Linked DNA regions of Homo sapiens: regions 1 and 3 are each linked to region 2. Evidence: promoter capture Hi-C in human tissues and cell types (Jung and others, 2019). All regions are on one chromosome and are shown on one strand. Each heading gives the region's core, a stretch centred on a gene start or on the middle of the fragment in contact. The rest is flanking DNA. Distances are from core to core; before and after follow the strand shown.

Region 1 (2,700 bases), core at 117-2,616, 360 kb after region 2:
AAAAGAAACAGAATGAAAAAACAGCCATAAATGACAAGATACCATTGGAAGATACCTTCAGCAAGTCCTTTGTGGTTACTTTATTGTCATTAAAGAGAAATCTGATCAAATGCCACTTTCGGTAAAAGAAAATCACTTCATAAAGTGCCGGGTGTGCAGCTTCTGGTAGTCTGTTAATTGAGTCCAAACTCCATTATCTCTTAGGCACCCCAACCAGTAAGTCTCTAGCTTTGTGGCATAAGTCCAGTGGCAAAGGAATCCTTACAACCAAGGAAGCCCATTCCATAGACAATTTTTTCTATATGAAATTCTTACCTGTTCTAGGAGAAATTAACTCCCTATGACATCCACTCATTGAGCCTAGTCCTGCCCTCTGAGACTCCAAACGGCAGGCCTGCTGTGGGGTTTTGAAGACTATAATCATGACTCACGGTCTCCAAACGTTTTTCTCTCCTGGTCGCCCTTCTCAGGCTATGTTCCTATTGTTCACGGTCCCTCTAAAGGACATGCAGAAGTGGGCACAAGACTACGGTGGCTCTAGGTTTGCCTGAACAAAAGAGGGCCTCAGGGTCCCTCTCTTCTTTTGGGAGGTCTTCTCAAAGCAGGGCTACCACTCTCACTGCCGCACCACCCCTCCGGAGTCCCAGCTCACCCGCTTCTGCTGAGAGTCCACCCAGTAAACACCGCCGCCGCTGCCACTGCCGGGCTCCTTGTGACGGAGGCGGCCGCACTTGGTGACCAGCAGGCGGTCCCCACAGCGCCGAAGGCCCGGACCGCATACAACGCGCACCCGCGAGCACGCTCTAGCATTCAGGCTCAACGGTCGCTCCACTGCACCCCCAGGGCCTTCCGCGTCCTCCTGTTCCGGCAGGAGCAGCTCCTCACCCGGGAGCACCACCTGACCTAGTACTGTGCGTGCAGCGCGCGCCCTGCTGCCCGCGAGAGATTCAGCCGCGACAGACGCAGGTTCGGCCATCGCGGGCTCCACCAAACACCGTTTCCGGTACCCGCCTTCCGCTTCCGCTCCGCTTCCAACACCCGCCCTTGAGGACTTTCCGTTTCCGGCAGTAGCGGTCCGTTGGATTCGGACCAGTTTATGAAGCTTGATGGCCGTCAGCTCACGGGTCCCTGTCCAAGGTGGCAGTGATTGTGGCCGGCCACCTATCTGACAGCCTGGCCGCGGGTCGGTATGAAAACCGCGCAGCTTGGTCCATCGAAAAGCCTCCACTTCCAGTGTCTCGGGTCGCGTGTTTTGTGACCGGTCGCATCGTGGGGATACGAGATACTTCCACTTAAGAGTTTCTTGGGATCTCTGGAAGCTGAGCAGAGGGGCTTTGAAAATTGGACGCTGGGGCCGGGCGCGGTGGCTCACGCCTGTAATCCCAGAAGTTTGGGAGGCCGAGGCGGGTGGATCATTTGAGGTCAGGAGTTCAAGACCAGCCTGGCCACCATGGTGAAACCCTGTCTCTACTAAAAATACAAAAATTAGCCGGGCGTGGTGGCACGCACGTGTAATCCCAGCTACTCGGAAGGCTGAGACAGGAGAATCACTTGAACCTAGGAGGCGGAGGTTACAGTGAGCCTAGATGGTGCCACTGCACTCCAGTCTGGAGGACAGAGTGAGACCCTGTCAAAAAAAAAAAAAAAAGGGAAATTGGACGCTAGGTGGGTTCATGGGACCTTCTTTCCGACTCCGCCCTCAGAAGAGTGGCTGACCTTTTAACAGGAAAAGTAGTTTTTTTCAAAATAAATAAAACCTTCTTGGTTGTTAGAGATCTAGTCACATTTAGAAAACACAGAGAAAAATAAAAGAAGAAAATAAACGATGTTTTAATCTTGCCCGTTTTTCTCCCTTGCTACACTGTAGTTCTGATTCTTTAGAGCCCAAGGTGTGGCATGAAATAGGTAATACCTGATGAATGAACGAATGTATTCCTTTGGTGTGTATTTCTCCCTAGACTTTTTCCCCCTGCAAATATACATATTTCACATGCTTCCGATAGCCCTACATGGCCTGGAATATCAGTAACTCAAATTTCCCTGGAGCACACTTAGTTGCGCACGTGAGAAGCAGTTGAATTCCAAACCCAAAGAGATTCCAATCATCTATCTGACTTTGGGGGTTCTATTTTAAATCACCGTTTTCTCTGTCAACTCGAACCTTCAATTAGTGCTTGATCAGATTCTCCAGCAGTGGTAGAATTCCTAGGGTCTGGGAGGCCGTGACTGACCGATTGCCTTTAGCGGCCCTCCCTTTCTACTGCTCATCTCTTTGAGGCACCTGCTTCCAACGTAATTTTTAGATTTTTTTTTTTAGACGGAGTCTCGCTCTGTCGCCCAGGCTGGACTACAGTGGCACCATCTCGGCTCACTGCAACCTCCGCCTCCCAGGTTCAAGCAATTCTCCTGCCTCAGGCTCCCGAGTAGCTAGGATTACAGGAGTGCACCACCGCACCTGGCTAATTTTTGTATTTTTAGTAGAGACAGCGTTTCACCATGCTGGCCAGGCTGGTCTTGAACGCCTGACCTCAAGCGATAGGCCCACTTTGGCCTCCCAAAGTACTGGGATTACAGGCATGAGCCACCAAGCCCGGCCGAATTTTTAGATTTTTTAGGATGATTAAGACAGATCATCTCTAACACACCCTCCAAATTTGGCAAGCCATTTTCCCCTGGGTATAAAAAAAGGTCAACAAATAA
Region 2 (2,724 bases), core at 16-2,515:
CTCACTGCAACCTCCATCTCCTGGACTCATGAGCAATTCTCCTGCCTCAGCCTCCTGAGTAGCTGGAATTACAGGCATGTGCCACCATGCCCACCTAATGTTTGTATATTCAGTACAGACAGAGTTTCACCATGTTGGCCAGGCTGGTCTCAAACTTCTGACCTCAAGTGATCCGCCTGCCTCGGCCTCCGAAAGTGCTGGGATTACAGGCATGAGCCACCGCGCCCAGCCATACATTTAAAGGCCATTTTCTTTTCTATAAACTGTCCATTGATATCCTTTGCTTATTCAGATAAGCTGGGCATCTTTGTCTTAGGAACTATTTGTGCAATAAGTAAATCAACCCCTTGTCTATAAAATGAGTTGCAAATATATGGTATTTTTCCCGGTTTGTTGTCTTATGATTTTGTTAATTTTTTTTTTTTAAGATAAACATAAGCCTGGTATTTCCAGGCACCTGGTATTTCCAGGCAGTCTCCCATACAAGCCCTAACCAGGCTTAGTTTCCAAGATCAGATGCATTCAGGATGGTACGGTTAATTTTTCAATGGAGAATTAGTTGTACTCTTATGGCTTCTGGCTTTCGCACACATAGCGTATCACTTATTTATTGCTGCATAAAGAATTACTCCAAAATTGAACGGCTTAGAGCAACAGCAGTCAGTGCATTATCATCTCTTATGGTTCCGGGGTTGACTGGGCTCAGCCAGTGATTCTCCTAAAGGCTCTTTCTTGCAGTTTTAGCTGTAGTCAGGTGGGAGTTGGCCTGGAGTCACCCGAAGGCTTCCTCACTCATACCTCTGGTCATTGACGGTGGCTGTGAGCCGGGCCCCTGGCTGTGCTGTTGGCCTGAACACCTACACGTGACCTCTCTGTGTGTCCTGGACTTCCTCACAGCCTGGAACCTGGGTTTCTACCCTGGGCCAACCCAAGAGACAGAAAAAGTGGGGGCTTTCAGTCTCTTAAGGCCTGAGCCTGTGGAAACAGGACCCTGAGCGTGTAGAAAAAGCAGGGCTCCCATGAGGCCTTGGACGGGATACTGCCCCCTCTCCCCCGGGGCCCTGATTCCCCAGTGGCACGAGGCGCACCCCCCCACACACACACAAGGACACTGTGTAGGGTCACTGTTACTGTCACTCCCCGAGCACGCACAGTCACCGCTCAGCCGCAACCCGGCGCTCCCTCTCGCGAAGCCACACCCCCTGCGCACGCCGCGCGCGACGTCTCTCCCGCCCACTCCAGCCTGGCCCCGCCCCGGCCCAGCTACATTCCCGGGCCAGCTTCTGTACTGCCAGGTCCGGGTCGGCGGCTGCACTGCGGATGAGACCGGTGCGACTCATGAAGGTGTTCGTCACCCGCAGGATACCCGCCGAGGGTAGGGTCGCGCTCGCCCGGGCGGCAGAGTAAGAGCCTCGCGCGCCGTGGAGGAGGGAGCAGGGCGGTCCCAGGGACCGGAGAGCCGGGCGGGGCGTTTGGGCCTTGTGGCCGGCTGGGGCAGGCTTGGAGTTTTGGGGAGTCTCGGAGAAAGTTCTCTGGGGCCCAGTTCTCCTCTTAAGACGACGCTGGGACCTGCAGTTCCGGCTTTGGAGAGGGGAGATTGCCCCTGAGGCAAGGTCCAGGCTAATTCTCCACGCTCCCACAGGACATGTGGGGTCAGGGACATGGCGGTCACTGACCAGGCCCTTGGACGTTTGGCAGGGGGCTTTGATGACTCTTCTTCTTTATATTTACTTATCTTTTTTTTTTTTTTTTTGAGACAGTCTCACTCTGCTGCACAGGCTGGAGTGCAGTGGCTCGATCGATCGTGGCTTACTGCAGCCTCGACTTCTTGGGCCCAATCAGTTCTCCCACCTGAGCCTCCCGAGTAGCTGGGACTACAGGCGCAAACAATCACTACCGGCTAATTTTCTGATTTTTTTTTTGTAGAGATGGGGGTCTCACTCTGTTGCTCAGGCTGGTCTCAAATTCCTGGGCTCAAGCAATCCTCTTGCCTCAGCCTCCCAAAGTGTTGGGATTACAGGTGTTAGTCACCATGACTGGCCTGAGGACCCTTTAATTTTTAAGACAGGGTCTCACTCTCATCCAGGCTGGAGTGCAGTGGCACCATTATACCTCACTGCAGCCTCAACCTCCTGGACTCAAGAGATACTTCCACCTCAGCCTCCCAAGTAGCTGGGACTACTACAGGCATGCACTACCATGCCTGGCTAATTTTTTATTTTTTTCAAAGACGAGGGTCTCACTGTGTTGCCCAGGCTGGTCCTGAACTCCTGTACGAAGGGATCCTCCCACCTCAGCCTCCCAAAGTGCTGGGATTACAGGCATGAACCACTGCACCTGGCCCACCCTTGCTAAATGGAACCCTTTTTGTGGGCCAACCTTGCCAGGTGCTTCATATACATAAACTTTTAATCCTGGTAGCACTGTGAAGTCAGTATTATAATTCCCATTGCACAGATTAAAAACTGGAGGCTGGACTTAGGGTTAAGTTTCTTCCCAAAGCCATGCAGCTCCCAGGTGGAGGAGCTGGGGCTTGTACTCAGAAGTGTCTGACTGCTGTCTGATCACTGCATTTGATCAGGTTTGTGTTTCCAATGTTAGATAGGAAGAGGATGCAATCCAGCCTCAGCAGCCAGTTCTAGGGGCATATGAGATTTTCAAATTTTGTTCACTGCAACAAAACCTTTGCCAAGGACCCACTTTGTACTGAGCAGGAGAAGGTGG
Region 3 (2,700 bases), core at 166-2,665, 340 kb before region 2:
CCAGTACTTTGGGAGGCAGAGATGGAAGGATCAATTCCTTTGAGACAAGAGTTCAAGCTTCCTGGCCAACAAAACAAAGAACTCACTTGAAACTGCTGCTAAGATCATGTATTAAATTAAGGGTAACTTGAAGTGATGCTCCCAGTTTGCATTCTTGAGACTTGGCCCAAATAAATTCTCTATTTATATTAACTTTGCCTCCGTTTTTCCTTTAGGTTGACAGTTATTTCTAAAGTTGTACAGAAGGGTTTACCTTGAGTATTAAAATAAGGTGTGAGAAAGGCAACTGAAGCCAGAGGCTCCCATCACAGCCTTGTGGCCTTCGGAGGCTTCCAAAGGATCAGCATTAACTGCAATATTTAGGAGGAGTGCAGCTCTTCAAGATTCATAAAGTGTTAAATCTGTTGCCTGGAATTCCAGAAAGAGGGGGAGGAAGAGCACAGTGTGAACTGTGTTCAACTTCAACCTAAAGGTAAAAGCGATCAGCCTAAGATCAGGAGCGCAAGGGAGAAGCTTGAAGCCATGCGTTCTCACGGAGGCGTTTCCCGCTCCAGGGCTGCCCAGGCCCGCGGGCCAAGCAGCTAGCCGTGCGGGCCGTCGTCACGCCCGCGATCAGATCAGCTCCCCGCCACGTGGCACTGGGAAGGCGTCCACCAAGCTCCAGGGAGAAGGAGGCGGAGCCCGGCCTCAATCTCACCCGTGTCCTCATGGGAGTTGTAGTTTTCCTTGCGGGCGTAGAGGGCACGAACTCCCGGCTTTTGCCCGATAAATAGCATCTCTTTTGTACGAGTCATTCAAATAATAGACGCAATCTAGGTAACTTCAAGAGAAGATGGGAAGGGGAAGGGGCAAAGCATGGAAGGCAAATCTAAAGATTATGGGCGGGGCAGAGAAAGGTTCGCACTTAGTACGCATGCGCATACCAGGCGCGACAGGTGGGCGGACACAGAAGGCGACGCCTAGGGCTGTGTTGTCCCGGAAGTGCCTTCTCTCCTCCCGGGTCTGCGCGGACGCGGCCTCCTTACCTCATTTGTCCTCGCCCCTCCCCGTCCCTCTACGCGTTTTGGTCCCTGTTTGGTGCTTTCTGTTTGCAGCTACGGCAGTGAGTATGTATGTGACGGACCCCGAGTCACCCGCGGCCTGGGACCCCTGCCTACCCTCCGTCTCGCCAGCCGAGCTGTGGAACTAGCGCGTGCCCCCTCGCCGACCTCGGCGTCTCCGGTCCGCCCCTCACTTGTGGTGGGGCGCAGCTCCTGGTCCCTCAGCTGCGCGCCGCCCCACGCGGCCGGGCTGCGGGTCTAGGGGGTCCGCATCTCCCTGGCTTTCCAAGGGCTAAGGTCGTGATTCTAGGGCGGCTGGGCGTCCAGGGCCTCGGTGGGGGTGGCGTGTCTGCCCTTTTTATCTCCCCGCAAGGCCCCCAGTCTTCTAGGGAAGCCAGTCAGTGAAGCGCGGAGGTCCGGGCGCGCCGAGAGAGAGTCCAGTCTTTGAGGACCGAGTAGTCCTGGGCCACCTCCCGCCTCTGCTGTCAGAAGCAGCAGCTGCCGCCGTGGAATCCAAAATTTCGGGAGCTGTGACCCTTTCCTCATGTAAAACGAGTAGTCTTGGACGGTGAGCGGACAGTTGCCTTCAACTTTTGGGAAGAGCTGCCGGTTCGGTGGAAAAGCTGTGGCTGGGAATCAGGAGGCCTGGGTTCTAGCCGTGGCTCCCCCACGGACTCGCTGGCGATTCCAGAAAGCTCTTATTGAGGCTGAATTTAAGATTATATCAGATTACACAGTTGAATTAGGGGCTCCATTAGTAGGGCCCTTTTAGCTCAGTGAATAAGTTTCTCCAACTATAAAACGAGAGCGTTCAATTTGATGACTTTTCAGGTCCCCTCAGAAGCTCTTGACTTTGTGGTTTTCTTTTTCTTTTAAAAAATTTTTTCTAGGACCGTTAGAGAAATGACTTCGTGTTTGAATAGTTAGGCTGTCGCATACAAAGACTTTTAAATGGATTGTGTGTATACTTAGGAAGGCATTATGCTTTCAAGAGAATCTGAGGATGGGGAATAAAGTCAGGAAGGATCGCAAGTGAGGATTATATTAATATGATAATTAGCACGGTAAGAGACTGCATGACCGAAGGAAAAGGGCTAAGGGAAAGGTGAAGGAAATGTTTCCGGATAGGATTAGTTCTCATAAAAATCATATATATATCCCAAGAAGAGCTGGGACTTATGTGACTAAATTTAGCTTATTTTTTTTCCCCCACTGAAATACTGTGCTCTGCCTCTGTTTTGTGACCTTTGTTTTACACATTTGGTTTCTCCACTCCAATCTCAGATTTGATTCAGAGTGGCCGTGGCATTTGAAAAATGGACATTTTAACCCCTTAGTCAATTGTGTTTCACCTGTCACTATCAGGATAGCTCATTAATAGTAAGAAAGAAATTTTACGTTGAAAGTAAAGTGTGTTCAGCATATTGCAGTGAAATTTGGACTGAAAATGAGGCTGTGGATTTGATTTAAATCGGCCCGAGATAGATTCCTATGTCGTCAAGAAGGAACATCTAGGGAGGCTAAAGGTGCTTTGGAAGTAAATAAGAGCAAAAGGTCAGAATGACCAGTAGGTAGGCTGTGAGACCAGAAAGATTGATTAAAGACCGGGCGCGGTGGCTGACGCCTGTAAATCTCAGCACTTTGGGAGGCCGAGGCGGGC

The links. The method cuts DNA at HindIII sites, captures the fragments that hold promoters and counts their contacts. A contact is called where the count stands out against the background at its distance.
Region 1: a contact is called between a fragment that was not itself captured here and the fragment with the promoter of GRHPR in region 2, in 1 of the 25 tissues and cell types used here (lymphoblastoid cells).
Region 3: a contact is called between a fragment that was not itself captured here and the fragment with the promoter of GRHPR in region 2, in 2 of the 25 tissues and cell types used here (hippocampus and spleen).

The regions. Positions count from the first base shown.
Region 1 is chr9:37,784,069-37,786,768 of GRCh38, forward strand. EXOSC3 (exosome component 3) reads right to left here and starts at 996. Exons shown (of 4, transcript NM_016042.4): 1 at 653-996. The coding sequence starts at 976. RefSeq lists enhancers at 679-738, 736-1,251, 749-888. The HindIII fragment of the contact is 4,959 bases long and covers 1-2,700 here.
Region 2 is chr9:37,421,431-37,424,154 of GRCh38, forward strand. GRHPR (glyoxylate and hydroxypyruvate reductase) reads left to right here and starts at 1,266. Exons shown (of 9, transcript NM_012203.2): 1 at 1,266-1,403. The coding sequence starts at 1,321. RefSeq lists enhancers at 612-1,237, 1,238-1,863 and a silencer at 1,078-1,227. The HindIII fragment of the contact is 13,627 bases long and covers 1-2,724 here.
Region 3 is chr9:37,078,929-37,081,628 of GRCh38, forward strand. It overlaps the pseudogene EBLN3P. Among named protein-coding and RNA genes, the nearest start is that of ZCCHC7, 40 kb to the right of the region's middle. RefSeq lists an enhancer at 673-1,152. The HindIII fragment of the contact is 4,726 bases long and covers 1-2,700 here.